3 separate regions of the Homo sapiens genome follow, and regions 2 and 3 are each linked to region 1. Evidence: promoter capture Hi-C in 16 types of primary human blood cells and fetal thymus (Javierre and others, 2016). All regions are on one chromosome and are shown on one strand. The core of a region is centred on a gene start or on the middle of the fragment in contact, and the rest is flanking DNA. Distances in the headings are between cores, read along the strand shown. Region 1 holds the start of SPRY1 (sprouty RTK signaling antagonist 1). Region 2 overlaps LOC105377407 (a long non-coding RNA gene). Region 3 has its middle 340 kb from the start of LINC01091.

The links. Contacts are between HindIII fragments. The CHiCAGO score rates a contact against its expected background, and 5 or more counts as called.
Region 2: a contact is called between a fragment that was not itself captured here and the fragment with the promoter of SPRY1 in region 1, in 2 of 17 cell types (endothelial precursors and megakaryocytes). The highest score is 10.0, in endothelial precursors.
Region 3: a fragment that was not itself captured here is called in contact with the fragment with the promoter of SPRY1 in region 1 in 1 of 17 cell types (endothelial precursors); the score reaches 6.0 in endothelial precursors.

The regions. Positions count from the first base shown.
Region 1 is chr4:123,394,415-123,398,483 of GRCh38, forward strand. SPRY1 (sprouty RTK signaling antagonist 1) reads left to right here and starts at 2,381. Exons shown (of 3, transcript NM_001258038.2): 1 at 2,381-2,518; 2 at 3,197-3,442. RefSeq lists a silencer at 3,816-4,069. The HindIII fragment of the contact is 9,971 bases long and covers 1-4,069 here.
Region 2 is chr4:124,106,502-124,110,570 of GRCh38, forward strand. The region is part of intron 2 of LOC105377407 (a long non-coding RNA gene); the gene reads right to left. Among named protein-coding and RNA genes, the nearest start is that of LINC02516, 450 kb to the right of the region's middle. The HindIII fragment of the contact is 1,639 bases long and covers 1,495-3,133 here.
Region 3 is chr4:123,991,329-123,995,397 of GRCh38, forward strand. No RefSeq gene overlaps it. Among named protein-coding and RNA genes, the nearest start is that of LINC01091, 340 kb to the left of the region's middle. The HindIII fragment of the contact is 3,113 bases long and covers 137-3,249 here.

The sequences.
Region 1 (4,069 bases), core at 1,131-3,630:
CATGTTGGCCAGGCTGGTCTCCTGACCTCTGGTGATCAGCCCACCTCAGCTTCCCAAAGTGCTGGGATTACAGGCGTGAGCCACCATGCCTGGCCATTTTTTTTTTTAATCACTAGAAGTTGTGAGGAGTTACTGAATTTTTTTCATTTCACTTTATTCTTTTTCAAAACTCAAATTAACACAAGCGATGGCTAATCTTGTTTTCACATGAAAATTAAGGACAAGTCAGGGCTCACTTTCCATTCCACTTTATTTAGACATATCTTAATAAACTAAAAATTATTATAAGATTTTTCCCATTGATATTTGCATTGTTTTTCATTTTTGGAAAAATTTCATACTTCCGTTATCCATTTTTAGTCAAGTTACAATGTAATTAAACTTACCAAGTGAAAAACAATGTATACTTTAAGCTAAAAATTTAGAATTTCTACAAAGTCTTATAGTTGCGGGGAATCAGGAGAGGCAAGTTTCATTCAATGTCTTTTAGAACCAAGGTGACAGAGCTATACGTACATTTATTTGTAATGTAATATTTAGAGAAAAACATATTAATGCATTTTAGTGCTAAATGACATGGAGGGTTATTGATCAACTCTGTACAGCATATTTAATTTCTTAATACAACATGACCCATGGTGATGGTGTTTTAGATAAAAATCTCATGGATTTGATTATTATAATTTAAAAATACTTGATCTAATGAAAATTATTTTAATACATTTCTGGTTGAAATAGAGTGTATTTGCAATAGAAATCTTTCAAATATATTTTGTAGGATTTATGAAGGTAGAATGTTCAGTGCTCCCTCTCCAGGTTTTATCATATTGGTGAACTGACCTCTCAGCTCACAACTGTGGTAATAGTTTTGAAGAACCAAATAAGATACTCTGATAGGATAGTCTATTTTTGATTTGTCTATTCCAAATACATTCACAAGAAACCTATCCATCACTAGTAAAATTTCATTACATCCCCAAATCTAATGAGATCTATGAAAAAAATACAATGAAATCAATTTTATTCTTTTAAATAGCCTATTTTAATACAATTCATAATATTAAGAGTGAATATGTAGCTTTTTGGCTTGATTCTTATTCTATGCTATTTTCTAATGATGCTTTTTTATTGTTATTCATGTTCTTAACAATGCTCTGTGTTCTTCAGAGGCAATTCCAAACACAACTTTAATTTTTGAAAGTGCTCAGACATTTGAAAGTCCTGTGTGTGTGCGTGTGTGTTATGTATGTATATATTTATAGTTTCAACAGAACCACTTGCTATTGTAAATGAGACTAAAAATGTACTTTGAACTAAAAATTTCCATACTTATATGTTTATATGATTTAGATTCTAGAGTTTTGTTATTGTTTGCTTTGTTTTGCCAGACTTTAAGCTACTCCTGATATATAGTACCTGGAAAAATATTTCCTTTCCACTAAGTTTTTGGTCTTTAGGTGGCTTTTAAAAGTTTCTACGGAACCTTCAATTCCACAAAAAGTTATCCTCACTGCAGCATGAAAAGGCACAACTTTGATAATAAATGCCTAAAATCCCATAGTTTGTAAGAAAGTAGAAATCAAGTTTCCTACTTAAAGTGTTTTTTTTCCAGTCATATCAGCTATTACTAAGAATTATAAAACTTCTTGATAAATTTTTTCTATTCTAATTAATTGACTTTTAGCTAATTAAAAAATATACGGGTTTGTATTTTTTGCAAAATTATACAACTATATTACAAAATTGAAAGAATTTGGTTTTTTCTCCATGTGCTTGATTTTTGGGAAATCATATAACAAGCCAAGGTAAAGCAATTATTTAAAAAACCCACAGCAGAAAATTTCACCTTTATTACATATGCTTATATTACATTTGCAGTAAGGAGTGCCACCTTTTGAACTTTAGGTTTCACATATTCTGAACTTTGTTGTAAATAGGAACTGTAATGTTATATAATCATCTTTTTGTGTCAATATACGTTTTCCCTCTAGTTGGTCAGAAGTGATGGCTTGGCATACAACTTTTTTCATTTTCTTTTATTCTTCACAATTCTTTTCTAATTCAACTTAAGAGTAGAGTCCACCAATCCTTTTAATTGAGATCGACAACTGAAGATTGCTAACTAAATCCGAATGTATTCCTCTATGACAAACTGCATTTGCAGAATTTTTAGAGGCACTCCCGAAGTTTTAAGAGGATGTTTATTACACGAGTCTGTAGGGCAACATTTCCAAGTTGGTACACATAAACGAAAGAGGAAACGATAGTTAAGGAAATCCTGTTCCAGGTTTTCGGGCAGCCCGAGTGATTGACACATGATATCACCGGAGGCGTGTCCTGGAGTGGAGGTGGAGGTGGAGGCAAGGAGCTGAAATTCTGCGTAGCCGGAGTGAGACCGCTCTGCAAACCACTGCGTGCTTTGCAGAGTGATTATCAGCACAGTTCCCTGCCCTGGATAAGGAACAGCTACAGTCGCTGTTAAATGTGCCTGAAAAGCAATTTGCAATCTTTGCATTAGGTAAGTACCGTTTCCTTCCGTAGACATTTTAGGAAAGATAAGGTGAGAAATGTTGACTTTTGCAAGGAACTGAACATTTATTTATTTGAACTTGCTTTCCAGCTAAGGTTACTGGTTGCATTTCAAAACACCGGTAGCATTCCCACTGCTAAAACTAATGCTCTTAAAGTAAATGCTACCGCTAAAAGAAAAAGCAGGGTCCCTTTCACCTTTCCTTAACCGAACAGTAGACGTTTAAAGTCTGAAACGATCGAATTTGTGAAACACAGAGCCGTTAATGCCTTTATGCGAAGAGGGGCTAGCACTCGGTGTGTGGACCAAATGCGTGTTTGTTTAGGCATTGTTGGCGACCGAATCCCGAGTGAAGCATTGGTTTAAAACCTGAATTTCCCGTCTCTGTGTATTGATTCCTAACGCGCAGAGGCGTTGCTTGAACGTTGTTTGAACTCCTAGGCATTCCAGGGGGCAAAAGCACCTCGGCAAAAACGTGCAGGACTGCATGTTACTTTGGTTCGCGGCTGACACGCCGACTGTGCGCCGGCCTGTCAATCACCGGGAGCAGCAACAGGGAGCACATGGCAACGGGCTGCGGGCGAGCTGGCCAGCGGCCCGCCCGGGGTCCCAGCCCTTCGAAGAAAGGGACATTCACGAGCTTCTATCTCTAATTCTCTGTCGCAGGCATTTCGGCCGTGGAACCCCAGGCTCGGAGGACTGGGTGTGAGCGCTGCCCGGGAGAGGCTGACCTGCCGGGACCGGAGTGCCCGGGGACGCTGTGCCCCCACTTGCCCAACGTGCGGAATCGGCTAAGCGCGTCGGCCTGCGCGGGGCACAAGGGACGACGCCCGCCTTTCTCTCTCCGAGAAGGATCCCCAAACCTCACTCTCTTCACTCCTCCCCGCTAAAAAAAAAAAAAAAAAGAAAAGGGTAAAAAAATCCCCCTCCCCCTCCCGGCCGCGGCAGCCTCTGCCTGGCAGGCGCGTGCTCCGAGGTTTCGCCGGGGTACTGCGCGGCTCCGTGACCCACCCGCCGACGGCGGTTCGGGCCCCGACCCGGGCGCTGCGGAGTCTCGAACGCCCGTGACGTGGATTTTTCGCTCGTCAGGAAGCCGCCATCCCTTCCTTCGTTCCTTGCGAGGAGCGACTAGAACCCGAGTTCTCTGAGCACACCGTGCCGTCAGCTGGCCCGTCACGCACTCGACTCCGCCACTCCCCTACTTGTTTTTCTGAGACTTGGGAAGCCTTCCTGAAAGGATTTGTAAAAACTGGTTCTTGGAAAGGGGCTGCAGAAGACCTCCCGAGGTGGATGTTACTGAGCCGCCCGGCGAGCACCAGCCGTGACAGGTCCGGGCCCGGCCGCGCGGAGCCGCGGGAGAACTGCCCTCCGCAGCCGGAAGGGGGCCGCGGGGAGCGCTCCTGGCCGGTGGCGGCGGGGGCGGGGGAGGCCGCGAGCCGAGGCGCTCCAACTCCGGCGATGCCGCCTCGCCCTCCCCGCCGCGGTTGATGCGGCACGTGCACGCCGCCGCCCGCACCAGGACCTGGGCCGGGTCGCACG
Region 2 (4,069 bases), core at 1,064-3,563, 710 kb after region 1:
TTAAATAGCAACAAATCAAGTCAGTGCTTATTTCTAATCAAGCTCAACTGGCAGCAAATTTGAAGGTCAAATGAAATTTGAGCACAAGGTATAAGGATAGCATGCTTATTGGTCTGAGGGTGCCACAGAATACTACCAAGTGAAGGGCTATGGAACTCATTCTTGGTCTAGTTTTGACTGAGAAAAGAATCTTCTGATCTTATATACAGTTTAGAAAAATAGTTTGTTTTGTTTTGTGTTGGGCATAGGAGCAGATGTAGGTTGTTGTCATTCCTAGAGAATGGTTTATGTTGTCCATGGAGGCAGGAGTGGGTTGCTATTAGTTTTTGAAATGTTTTCTGTTATTTACTGAAGTATGTTTGTCATTGTTTACCATACAGGTGGAACTCGGTTAATGTTAGTTTTAGAAGCATGGTTTGTAATGAGTCTATTGCTGGTTAGCTGATGTTCAAAATGTAGGGCTGTCACTGATTGGCTGGTTTTTAGACACGGATTGACTGAAAAGCGTTGTCATTGATCAGCAAAATATGTTAAAAGCCACATTTCTTACATTGACTTGTTAAAATGTCTACAGAACAATGACTTTTATTCTAGGAGTGTGGACTTTTAATTTTTATGTGTTAGGGATAATTTGTTCTTTGAAAGTTAAATAAAATAAAATAAAACTCTCTGTGCCTGAAGTTTAATTTGGGGAAATGTTTCTGTTTTGCTACTATTTCAAGTCCTTAGTAGTAGCAGGACTATTCAGGCTTTTAGTTGCTTCTTGATTCTGGTTCGGTAAGTTATAGTTTTCAATGTATTTGTCCATTTTGAATAAATTTTCAAAATTGTTGTCTCTTGAGACTATTTTCCTGTTATCTTTTAATTTTATTTATGCCTCATCTGTAGTCTGGTCATATTTTCCATTTATAATATTTGTGCTTTCTTTCTTTTTGTCTTTAATTGTCTTGTTAACTATTTGCATATTTTGATGTCATTTTTCTAAACAACCACTTTTTGGTTTTATTGATCCATCTATTGTGTTTTCATCACTCTAATGTATATTTTCTATTTTATCATTTATGCTTTTATTTTTATTGTTTCTTTTCTTCTGTTATATTTGGGTATATTTGGTTATTATTTTCTAAATGTTAGATACTTTGCTCATTAATTCTTAGCCTTTCTGAATTTCTGATGTATGCATTTAAAAATATAATGTTCCCTTAACGGGTGTCTTATGCAGCCCTATACATTTTGACATGTAGTATTTCATTATTATACACCTCTAGGTCTTTTGAATTTTTCATATTGATTTATTTCTAACTCCTGAGTTATTTGGAAATTTTTTTCTAATTTTCAAATATAAGATAATTTGACTTATCTTTTTATTATTAACTTCTGAATTTCTTGGTTTGTGGTTAGAGCATATGGTCTCTATCATATCTGGAAAATAGAGTAGAAGGGGTACAAGGGAGGTTTCAGTCCCAATTTCTACCAAAATGCTGAACCAGCAGAAGCTTCAACGTCTACTTTCCTTCCTCCTTATGCCTTTCTAAATAGATTATACAATAACTCCTGGAGAGTTGTACTCTTTAGATCTTTTTTTCTGTCTCTTCTGGTGCTTATGAGTTTATATTCTCCTCCTTATGCCTTTCTAAACAGATATACAATAACTTATTGTATTATATTGTATATTGTATAATTATATATTTATATACAATAAGTTATTGTATAATCTATTTAGAAAGGCATAAGGAGGAGAATATTAGCTCATAAGCACCAGAAGAGACAAAGAAAAAGACCTAAAGAGTACAACTATTTCAAAACTACAAATTGAAATTGTATTTCACTGAAAGTGGAGAAAATATAACTAAGAAACAAATAATACAGAGTAAGCATAATAAGTAAAAAAGGAAGCTATTAAATATATACAATAAGAATAAGAAAGCATAAGAAGATCCAAATAGGATTATGTGTGAAGACAATAGATGAAATAAAGAATATACTAGGTAGTATAAATAAATAATCAGTGAATTACAAAATTAAAGATTAGTTTGGGAAACATTCCAGAAAGAAACAAGGAAGCATAAATAAATAGAAAACTTAAAGAAAAGTTAAGGGACATATGGGGAAAAAACAAGTATAAATATCCTTAATCAAATTCCTGGAAAGAAAAAGTTCAAGAAGAAAATATAGCCATTCAAAGTAGCTAGGATATAATTCAGGTGAAACTTAGGACCTTCAGAACCTGCAGAAACCTTGTATCTGAGTCTTCAAAGAAGTTTAGAACTTCACCAAGTTTAGAAGTAAAAGGAGGGACTAAATATTTTAGGAAACTTGGAAAAGAGAGGTTTGTTTCTGTATCTGTAAATAAGCCACATAGATTAAGTGTGAGATTTTGAGATTTGTTCTCACTCGAATGTATTCCAACTACTAATATGATTTGTCAGTGAGTTGGCCAAGCCCTTTTAGAGTTGTCAGAGATACCAATAACTCTCTACCTTAGACCCTAGACTTGGCCAGTCCAATTCACAGACCTATTGCTGCCTGGCTGGCCTCTGTAAGCATTTGCATGTAAATCCCCGTAATGATTATGACTGTAGATTCTGAAGTCAGGGGCCTGGGTTCCAGTCCAACCTCTGTCGAACACTGATTGTATAATACTGGGCAAATTACTTAACCTCCTCTCTGCTTTAGCTTCTATATCTGTAATACTAACTCTTGCAGCACTTTGTATAATTGTTCAGGATTTTACAAAAATACATCTCACAGTAGTTTCTGTTGTTATCAGCCAGTTTACACCAGAGCACATTTCGTTTTCTCCGATTTCTGATTGGTTTAGACACTTTATTACATAATATCTTCAATGGTTCCTTGATCAGTAAGAATAAAAAGCCTGAGATACAGGTTACATCACTATTATAGTAGAATCCTTTGCTCAGATTTTTAGAACTATTTTGGCGAAAGAAAAATGGAAAAGACACTGTTGTTCATCAGAGAATCTTGGAAGGTTGGAGATAAGAAAAGGTTGGGTTGAAATTGGAGATTTTGGTGAGAACTGAATTGCTCACCTAATAGAATGGCAGGTAATTGTGACTCTTAGTGATGATTCCTAAAGTTTGCTGGAAGGAGGAGTGAGAAATGGAGAAGTTGAAGCTTGAGTGGGAAGAATTTTAAAAGGAAACTTTTAAGGAATATATAAAATATTATTTAAAGATAATTACATGTTGTGATGTACACCCTCTACCTTTCTAAATCATCAGGAAGACCTACAAAGTTTATGTTATTTTGTTGGGATTTTTGCCTAAGTATAAGAGAGAAAGACCAAAATCCATTTCTTGCTGCCAAAAAGTTTAAGACATAACTAAAATAATTTAGCACAAGATCTGAGTTAGAAGTGTGACTATGTGAAGTCAGCCCTATTAATTTTCATATATATCTCGAAGAGAAGGTTGGGTTTACTGCAGGACCCAAACTAGGACTTCCGGCTACTCTTATCCAATATATTGCCAGGTTGATTCAGTTGATATCTGCTAACAGCAATACCTAATATTTTGCCTTTCATGCTAATACATAAATATTTATTCATATATAATACATATATTTTTATATAGAGAGAGGGTATTGGAATAAAAAAATGTGTGTTAGAACTAGGGCAGCAAGAATGGAAACAGAATTTAAAAAAATCACTGTTACGGCAGCCATTCTGAAGATACAGAGGGATGATCAACTTAAAATTTAATAATCCCTATGGCTTTGGCAGTTTATTATATCAGCAAGGGTTCACATGTACGGTATTGTTTAATATTATAACTGCATATATTGTTATTGCAAAGAATATTAGAATATATTATACCTATTTTAAAAATTTGTTATATTCACTTTAATGAATTAATTCCTTACAAAAAAAGAATTACTAAATTGATCATGTTCAATGATTTTTCTAAGTAAGTCTAAGAGTATTTGACTGATTCTTCATTGCTTTCCTAAAGGATTTACTCTGTCAAGTCATATAAAATATAAAATTTCTTTAGTTGTCAGGGTTAGTTCAGATTCTTTACTCTGTATGAGTAACAGATTGCAGTGTGTT
Region 3 (4,069 bases), core at 443-2,942, 600 kb after region 1:
TCATCTTTAATGTTCCCATTCATATTGTTTTCAAATTTATATAAAATCAACTTTAAAATTTAATCCTGTTTGTGGACTAAAAATATCAAACTGTATAAAAGGATACAAGTAAAAACTAATATTTTCCCCTCACTCAAGCTTCCTTCCTCAGAGGTTAACATCTAAAAGTTTTAGTGTAAGACTGGTTATCCTTTTCAGTTTTGGAAAATTTCATTATATTTTTTCTTCTGTCAAGCCACTTCTTCCCAATTTTTTTCTTTTCCCTCTTTGAGGGAGACATAATTGTTAGGTTTTGGGTCTTCTGAGTTGAATTGTCTTATGTTTGTGTTTCTGTCTTGTCTTTTTGTCTTTGTTGGAAGGGAGTTTCTCAAATGATATCTTCTAGCTCTTGTTTTTACTTTTAAGGCTTGGCAAGTGTAGTTTTAATTTCCATCAATTCCTTTTTCCCTGCTCCTTTTTAAATAGCAACCTACTTTTACTTAATATATCAGGAATCAAAATAAATAAAATATATTACAAATAATAGTATGAAAATATATAAAATTAGGAATTGATATGGTCTGGGAGGTAATGATATGGACAGGAGGCAGGGAAATACTGTGTAGAAGAGAGAGGTCCCTGGCGAGGGCCACATGGTCAAGCCTGGACTCATGGCCCAAAGTGAGAACGTACATTCTTTTTGTCCTGCTCAAAAGTTGCCTTTTCCAAAACCACCCCTGGCCCGCCTCACCCCCGATCCTGTACCCATAAAAACCCCAGTCCCCACCAGCAGAGTGGCAGAACAGTCAAGAAGGAGAGAAGAAGCAGCTGGATATTGGAGAGAAGCAGGTTGAATTCAGAGGGATGGCTTGATGGTGGGACCTTGGAGAAGAGTTTGGCCAGGGATGGCCAAAATCCATGGAAGACCACCTTCTCACTCCATCCCCTTTCCAGCTCCCCATCCCACTGAGAGCCACTTCCACCACTCAATAAAATCTTCCACATTTACCATCCTTCAACTTCTTTGCATGACCTGATTCATCCTGGATGCCAGATGAAGACCTGAGTGTGGGTTCAAGAGGTTGTCACAGTGACCCTCCACTGAGTTAACACTTAAGCCATCCATGGATGGCAAAGCTAAAAGAACACACTTTAACACATACCCTCTGGGGTTCCAGGGGTCCCTGACAACCCCAAGATGCTGCCATGGGCCTGCACAGAGTTCTTCTGCCAGAAGTGCTCATTCTGGCCTCTGTACCTGCTCACCTGCATGCTCCCCCTCCCACAAGAGGTTGAGAGCTTTGAGCTGAGTACATGAGTCAACTCCTTTGCAGGGGTCAAGGGAACTATCACATTTCAGTAGGACAGGCTTCCTTGTGAAAATGACTTTTGAGCAGAAATCTAACCGATGCTAAGGAATTAGTTATAACGATGAAAAATGACCTAGTCAAGTAGGAGGAGGGAGTAAGAGCAGTTCAAAAATAGGATTATAGTTGCCTGCTCAAAGGCTTCTTTAATGGCCAACACATTTACAGTTATGATTTCTTCTCTGCCCATGGCTTCAGGGCAACCCATAGGTTTGATATGTAGCACTCTAACCTGAGTGTGTAAATGTTCTTTAGCTGCAATTTTATGTACCTCACTGACACAAAAGTAAGTTAGGGACTATTTTCCAGTCTATGTATGTTGGCTCTTATGTTGTTGTTGTGGATATTTTATGTTTAACTTTTTGATTTTTTTCAGTATTACTTGAAAATGTAGTATATATATTTTCAACATTTAAGCATTAATTGAGATCTTTTATGACAAAATAACATTTGTAAATATACCATAGGACCTCAGTAAATAGTTTACTCAATTTGGAATGTACTAAATCCTATGCATATCTGTTATTAAGCTATCTTAATTAGATTATAAAGAGATCTATATTTTCATTTATTTTGGGCCTATGTAGGTCATAAAAGTATTTAAATATATGTCAAAGTTCCCATGACAATATTAGTAGATATATTCATGTTTTAACAGTTTTGACTTTGTATGTCTCTATAAAATATTATCCTGCTAATAAAGTTTCATAGCTGTTATTTCTTATCAATATTAGATAACTTTTTTCTTTTTAATGAGTTTTTTTACCTTGAAATCACTTTTGTCTGAATTGCTATTATAACCTTTGCCTTTGCTTAATAAATCTCTCTCTAGCTTGCATTTTTAACCACGCTCTATAACCTTTGAGGAACCTGTGTTGTAAAAAATTAATGTTAGACTTTCTTTCATGTAACATGAAAAATATTACTATTTTAAATTCAGATGAATACACTAAACTATTAAATTTGGAATTACGTATTTTCTTCAACTTTTTAAAAACTTTGCCTTTAGTTTTGTAGCTAGATTTACAGTTGTTTAGTTTTAACAGTATGGTTAACTGTTTTCAATTAAATTATGTCATCCACATCCTTCAGTTCTTAATTTTTATTCATCTCTAGGTCCTCATATTTTGAAAGACCACCTGTGCTATATGTTTTATGACTAGGCAGTCATTGCTCCATCCATCTGTTTTTCAGTATTGTGTGTGTGGTTTTTTTGGGGGAGCGGGGGATGGAGTTTCACTCTTATTGCCCAGGCTGGAGTGCAATGGCATGATCTTGGCTCACCGCAACCTCCACCTACTGGGTCCAAGGAATTCTCCCGCCTCAGCCTCCCGAATAGCTGGTATTACAGGCATGTGCCACCATGCCCGGCAAATTTTGTATTTTTAGTAGAGACTGGGTTTCTCCATGTTGGTCAGGCTGGTCTTGAACTCCCAACCTCAGGTGATCCGCCTGCCTTGGCCTCCCAAAATGCTGGGATTACAGGTGTGAGCCACTGTGCCTGGTCAGTATTTTGTGTTTTATAGAAGATGTCTTAGACAGCTTGATATTTTTACTTTATAATCAATTAACTAGCTCTGCTGGATGCTTTTAATACTTTTATGTGTAATAATACAAAAATTTGGCCTATTTCTAGGTGTAAATATTTATTTCTAGAGTCCATGGAAAGCTCTTTCAATATACATGCATAAAATAGTATATAGTCATTAAGGACATATTGTTTTCTGTCATACAGTCCTAGGAACAGTTTAACAAGTACTTAACCATTCTAAGGCTCAGTTTTCTCCTCTCTAAATGAGACTAATACATACTAGCTCAGAGGATTATTTAAGAAATTAAATGAGATAATTCAGGATGCCTGGTAAGAGCACATATTAAAAGGCTATGTTTTTTCATTCAGATAAGCTTTCCTTCATTATTTTTTATTTCTTCTGTTCAAATTATTCTCATTTCTCCACTCAGGAATAGCTATAATTCTCAGTTTTCTCTCCATTCTTTTGCCATTTAGGTTTATCATCTATTTCAACCTTTTCCACCTCATCTTTCCTAACATGCTGGGGAAGTTTCTCAAACTTGCCTTCAAATTCAATGATTTTATTTTCAGTTGTATTCATTTTGCTCTTCACTACCTTCACTGTGTATTGTAATTCTCCTATTTTATTTTTATTTTCTTAAGTCCTTTCTTATTTAATGTATACTCCTGTTAAACCCACCCTGTTAGTATTCTCTAAAGGTTAGTATTCTTATTTTACGGAGGTTGCTGGCTCAAATGCCATTTTCTTAGAATACTTTCCTTATCCCGAAGTAAATAATTATTTATTCTTCTTACTTATCTCAAGATGATTTCCTTTTCCTTTCTTTCAGTTTTATTTGTAAGTTCTTGATGAGTACTTTCTTCCTTATTCACTTCAAACATGGCAAAATCCATACCTGCCAGATAAGCCATACTTGATGCTTGCTAGTGGGCAATGAATGAATTGCACCCATTTCTCTCTGTCAATTTGGGAAATCATTCTGTTTTCTTCAGAGATGCAGTGCTAGCTCAGCCCTCCCTCCAGAAGGAATTATTCCTGAGGAATGGTTCCCAAGCTTTGTTTTCCCCCAAAACATTCTTCTTCTGTAAGATGATAATAAAACAGGTTTTAAAAGGCGGGGAAGGGAGCAGTCCATTGAGAAGTAATTTTAGTAATCACTGTGGCAAACTGACTTGAACAAGTTTCTTT